Linked DNA regions of Homo sapiens: region 1 is linked to region 2. The links are contacts of gene promoters, found by promoter capture Hi-C in blood cells and fetal thymus (Javierre and others, 2016). All regions are on one chromosome and are shown on one strand. The core of a region is centred on a gene start or on the middle of the fragment in contact, and the rest is flanking DNA. Distances in the headings are between cores, read along the strand shown.

What was found. Contacts are between HindIII fragments. The CHiCAGO score rates a contact against its expected background, and 5 or more counts as called.
Region 1: the fragment with the promoter of ZNF669 here is called in contact with the fragment with the promoter of TFB2M in region 2 in 4 of 17 cell types (total CD4 T cells, non-activated CD4 T cells, neutrophils and 1 more); the score reaches 6.9 in total CD4 T cells.

The regions. Positions count from the first base shown.
Region 1 is chr1:247,102,937-247,105,992 of GRCh38, forward strand. ZNF669 (zinc finger protein 669) reads right to left here and starts at 1,420. Exons shown (of 4, transcript NM_001142572.2): 1 at 1,261-1,420. The coding sequence starts at 1,263. FLJ39095 (a long non-coding RNA gene) reads left to right here and starts at 1,575. Exons shown (of 3, transcript NR_147502.1): 1 at 1,575-2,704. RefSeq lists an enhancer at 1,371-1,665. The HindIII fragment of the contact is 5,762 bases long and covers 1-3,056 here.
Region 2 is chr1:246,564,711-246,567,547 of GRCh38, forward strand. TFB2M (transcription factor B2, mitochondrial) reads right to left here and starts at 1,551. Exons shown (of 8, transcript NM_022366.3): 1 at 1,116-1,551. The coding sequence starts at 1,428. It overlaps CNST (consortin, connexin sorting protein), which reads left to right and starts at 1,746. Exons shown (of 11, transcript NM_152609.3): 1 at 1,746-1,953. RefSeq lists enhancers at 1,241-1,520, 1,751-1,810, 1,851-2,350. The HindIII fragment of the contact is 6,532 bases long and covers 1-2,482 here.

The DNA.
Region 1 (3,056 bases), core at 170-2,669, 540 kb after region 2:
ACATTAATGTCACCACTTCCAGATGCTATTCCTGTGAAATCACATAAATTCCCAAATCAGGCTTTTTTAGGCAAGAAAAACTAGTTTTTCATACCTAGTAAAAATGACAAATGTCTAATGATTTTCAGTCATCTAAAAAAAGAGTTATGTCTTGCCTAACATACTTTTAAGATTTTCAACCAAAAATATTCAGGACAGCACAGTATTAGCAGAGAGATGAGCAAGCAGACCAAGGGCTGAGGACACAACACCCTGTAAAGTTTTCACAGGGGGACATCAACCTAAAGACATTTTGGTAATATGCACACTTAGGAAAGATGAAGAGAGGCACAAAGATTTTTTTACAGTAGAGTGTCAGATGGTTTATTCTCCGCTTTCCTCTCATGTAAAATGTTTGTAAACAGAAAAATATTTTGGCCGAGCGCGGTGGCTCACGCCTGTAATCTCAGCGCTTTAGGAGGCCGAGACGGGCGGATCACTTAAGGTCAGGAGTTCGAGACCAACCTAGCCAACATGGCGAAACCCTGTCTCTACCAAAAATACAAAAATTAGCTGGGCGTGGTGGCGGGCGCCTGTAATCCCAACTACTCGGGAGGCTGAGGCAGGAGAATCGCTTGAACCCGGGAGTCAGAGGTTGCAATGAGTGAGACTGCATCATTGCACTCCAGCCTGGCGACAGGGCGAGATTCCGTCTCCAAAAAAAAAAAAAAAAAAAAAAAAAAAGAATATGGTTTGCTTCCTCATTAACCTTATCAAAGCCTCTCATTTACGCCCCTTCTGTGGACCCCAAACCACAAACCATGACTGCGGTACCTGGTTTATGAATCGCCGTTTGCTCAAACACACGGTTTAACGTTTTAACAAAGCCTCGGCTTAATTTTAGGGGAAGAAAGGTGGGACTGGAAGCCCCATGAACCACAGCTCCTCCCATGCTGGAACCCCGCACACCGAGACACCGAGTCGGGGCTCTCCCGCATCACCCTCCCGTGGTCACCACACTACCTGGATAGGGGAGGCGAGGGGTTCCCGACAGGGCTCCGGCCGGCGGAAGTGGCGCCCGCAGGTACAGACAGGATGCAGGGGTTCCGCTGCCCGCCCCGCCCGGCCCGGCCCTGAACAGAAGAGGACTGAGCCCCGGCTACGCCACGGCGACTCGGTCCGCAGGTTCCGGAGCCGATGGCGTGGAGGCCCGAGTCGCGCCACAGCAGGTTTCAACCAGCCCTCTTCTCCACTTCGGGAAGCCAGGCGCAGTCCACTCACCATTCCTCGGCTTCCCGGGTGTCCTGGCGTCAGCTAGGGATGTCCCAATACTCGCAGGTCACAGGGTGGCAGAGGCTGCTGCAGAGCCACCTGGGCCTCCCAGAGCCAAGAACTAGCAGCGGAGACTAACAGGAAGAGCCGGCTCCGGCGAAGGAGAGACAAAGCAACCGCCAGGCAGATCCCGGAAGCCGCCCTCTCCTTTCCGGCGGCGCGCCTGATTGAACGGTCCCCACCCCAGCGCCCCTGATTGGATGGGGCTTCAGGCCCCGCCCCTCAGGCCCTGAGTGACAGGAGATTGCGATCTCACGTGAGGCTGGATGAGGTCAGAATGACCGCTTTTGGCCTAGCGGTTTGTAGGCGGTGCGTCCTTCCTGCGCTGGGATCCGACCATGCAAGAAGGACATTCACATTTAACCTGTATACAAGTTATAGCTATTTGTGCCTTTTATATATATATATATATATAAAATTGGAAGCAATATAATGACAGTTCTGTAACTGCCCAGGGAGTTCACCTTGCCCGCTACCTAGACAGAGCCGATTTCTCAAGACAGGGGAATAGCAATAGAGAAAGAGTAATTCACGCAGTGTCCTCTGTGCGGGAGACCGGAGTTTTTTTATTTTATTTTATTTTTTTGAAACAGAATCTTGCTCTGTCTCCCAGGCTGGAGTGCAGGCTTGGAGTTTTATGATTATTCAAATCAGTCTCCCTGAGCATTTGGGGTAAGAGTATTTAGAACGTTTATTTTGCCAAGGTTGGGGATGCATATGCATGACACAGCCTCAGGATGTCCTTGATGACATGTGCCCAAGGTGGTCAGAGCACAGCTTGGTTTTGTTGGAGAGAAATGCTCGGTGCCGCAAAGTGAAACCAGCACTCAAGCGAAAGTTTTCTCAGCAACGCAATTTACTTCTGCAGAAGCGTGCTGCTCGCATCAATCACGATCGCAAGAGCACACTGAACAGAGGAAAGCAGGGGTTTTTATTCCTAACGCAGTCCCTACCTCTGGCATGGGCTGGGGTCAGACCGCACGATCTAAACTGACCCGGTTGGCTATTTGTGAATATTTTCCCAAATAAGGAAGGGGGAAGGGGGATGTGAGTTACAATGGTGGGACTTGCGGTTTCCAAGGGAGAAATGGGTGCAGAGCAGGTAACCAAGGGAACAGATGTGAGTTATTGATTAGAACTGACGGAAGGTTGTTTACAGTAACTAAGGGCAAGGAGGCATGGAGAACAAGAAAGTTGAGTTCGAAAACAAAAAAACAAGAAAGTTAACATGCCAAACCTTGGAAGAGAAACTGACTGTATCTGACAGCTTTATACATTTTAGGGAAACAGGAGACATCAATCAACATATGTAAGATGAACACTGGTTTGATCCGGGACAACCTGAAGCAAAAGCGGGTCAACTCGAAGCCAGGAGGGGGCTTCCAGGTCACAGGTAGGTGAGAGACAAACGGTTGCATTCTTTTGAGTTTCTGATTAGCCTTTCCAAAGGAGGCAATAAGATATGCATTCATCTCAGTGAGCAGGGGATGACTCTGAATAGAATGGGAGGCAGGTTTGCCCTAAGCAGTTCCCAGATTGACTTTCCCCTTTAGCTTAGTGATCTGGGGGGCTCAAAACATTTTCCTTTCCAATTTCCCCCTTTTCTTTTAAAAATATTTTGGAGAAAGCATTTTAGAAGAAAATCAGTCTCTGGTCCCAGGTTTTGTCCAATCTCTCATGGAGTAGCTGGGATTACAGGCACTGGACACCACGCCTGCCTAATTTTTTTTTTTTTTTTTTCGTAG
Region 2 (2,837 bases), core at 301-2,800:
ACTCTGTCACCCAGGCTGGAGTGCAGTGGGGCAATCTCGGCTCACTGCAACCTCTGCCTCTTGGGTTCAAGCGATTCTCCTGCCTCAGCCTCCCGAGTAGCTGGGATTACAGGCGCCCGCCACCACGCCCGGCTAATTTTTGTATTTTAAGCAGAGACGGAGTTTCACCATGTTGGCCAGGCTGGTCTGGAACTCCTGACCTCAAGGGAACCACTCGCCTCGGCCTCTGAAAGTGCTGGATTACAGGCGTGAGCCACCGCACCAGGTCAAAACTTGCACTCTTCATCACCATGATTCACTACCTCTTAGAAGAAAAAAGTCACAGCAAAATAGATTGCCTCTAGCCTATCACTTCCTCACGGACTACACGGATGCTTTAACCATCAAAGAGATTGTCAAGCCTAAACAGAACTGACTCCCTGTGATATGAAATGGTGCTTTAAAAAACTATCATTCAAAAAGCCTATAAATCTTGTGTTCTTAGCATCCTGCTATGGTCTATAGGGAATGCACGGAAGAATAAGATAACATCATTTTTTCAGCTGGCAGAGGCTTGCAACTCTTTTGGGGAGATAAGATCTAAGAGCATGTTTTATCAAAATATTGTGTAAAGTGCAAGCTGCTACAGAAATACTTTGTGGTGTCATTAACGATACAGACTCTACGCTTATGTAGTGGGCAATCTCTCCAACTAAGGAGCTTCAAACAAAGACCCGTATCTGGACGGGCGCAGTGGCTCACGCCTCTAATCCCAGCATTTTGGGAGACCTAGGGGGGAGGATCACGAGGTCAAGAGATCGAGACCATCCTGGCCAACACGGCGAAATCCCGTCTCTAGTAAAAATAAGAAAATTAGCTGGGCGTGGTGGCGCGCGCCTGTAGTTCTTGCTACTCGGGAGGCTGAGGCAGGAGAATCGCCTGAACCCGGTACGCGGAGGTTGCAGGGAGCCGAGATCGCCCCACTGCACTCCAGCCTGGCAACACAGCGAGACTCCGTCTCAAAGCAAAAGAACAACAAAAAAGACCCCCCAGTATCTAAAATAGCACCCCGAGGAGGGTCAATACGTTTGAATAAATGATGAACATCCAAGAAAATGCAATTCAGCTGGACTCACCTGGATTGCACTCCAGCAGTAGGTGTGGAGGTCTACTTGGTTTTCCCAAATAGATTTGCGCCAGGGTCTCAGCCAATCTCCGATCGGTTACGTAACGCTTAAAGTCTAAGCTGGCCTTAGACGCCTTCCTTGGCGGATTCCTGAAATCCGGTTCGGGCCACAGCTGCGGAGAGGAGTCAGAGAGCCCACAGTGGTTCCTCGCCGGCAAATGCTTTCGCGTCGCCGCTTCAGACCCTAAAATGCAAAAGCGACCAGCGCCCGCCAAGGCGGAGAGCCTCAGCCGCCGAGGAAGCCCGACCACTGGGATCCACATGTCCTTGTCTCTCAGGCCCGCTCCAAGAATCACCTAGTGCAGCTACTACAGTGAACCCCACGCAGGGTATCCCACGTGGAACATTTTCTGGCGTCCGGGCCAGGTCAAGCGGAAGTAAACACTAGAGCCTGCGCATGCGAACAGCGGAGCCTTCCTGCTTTTCTCCCTCACTTCCGCTTCCGCCTCGGCTCAGCCGCCCGAGGATTGTGAGTGGACCGTTGAGGAGAGCGACCGACCATCCGGCTGGTGTCCGGACTCGTACTCTATGGTTGTCCGCGCTCTGCGCTTCCTCTCTAGCCGCCAGTGCTCTATGCTCCGCGGTCGCGGGCCGCCAGCCTCCAGCCGGCCAGCCGCGAGGGGTGCGCAGAGGGAGGCGGGGCGGAAAGGCGAGAGGTGTCTCCTCCACCGGAGCCAGGGGAGACCCGAGCAAGCTCCGTGACAGCACGTCGGCCGCCATGTCGCCGAGTGGGGCTGGAAACAGACCCGGCGCCCAGCGGTAGCCCTCCTTGCGCCTCCGATTCCCAGGTGAGGAGAGGAGGAGCGGGATGCAGGGGACCCGCCGGCTCGCGGCCGGGATGGAAAGCCTTTCGGAAGCCTCTCGCTCCTCCCCCTGCGCTGTCCTCCTCCAGCCGCGCAGCCTCTGCCCTCCGGGTGAGGTGTAGCCCGGTCCCCTTACCTCCTCCGCCTCTCAGGTCGCCTGTTTTCCTCTCCTTTCTCAGCTACTGTGGGTCTCCTATTGCTGCGCGTCGCGCCAATTTCTCCCTCCCTAGGGGACTAGCGCCAGAAGTCGTTCCTCACCCGGCTCCTGGAGGAGCCTGCGGCTTCCACGGTCTCCGTTCCTTTCTGTTGTGTGGCCCACAGCCCGCTCTCCCCACCCTCGTGGATGGTTTTCATTTCCCCCCCACACCTGGTCCCCCCCATCACTACCACTTTGGTTGTCAAGAACCGCGTGGTGTCTCCCTTCCATTCCTCTCTCTGGGCCAATATTTTCCTTAATTTTTTCAGTTTGTGTGTTTAAAAGACTTAAAGTTAAGATTAAAAATGAAGATGTAAAAGCTTACAATTCCTTTCTAAGCTTAAAAAGATTAAGACTTTAGGATGCTTACTGTATTCCTTATGTAAACTTAGTCAAACACATCGTACTGTGGAATGCGATTTAAAAGACCCAATTTTGAAGACTAAAAATAGGATGCTGTAATGGAAATTTTGGCAGTCTTTTTTTTTTTACCTATTGGGCAATGTTAGAAGACACGGTTCTTTGAGAGTGTTTTCCGTGTTTCAGGATCAAACTTAGAGCTTTTACCCATTATCCTTACCACCAAGGCAAGAAACGGCAGCCAATCAACTCCGTGTCTTAGAATACGTACAATCCTTTCTGCTTACTCTACTGAGAGTGTAATTGAGTTTGG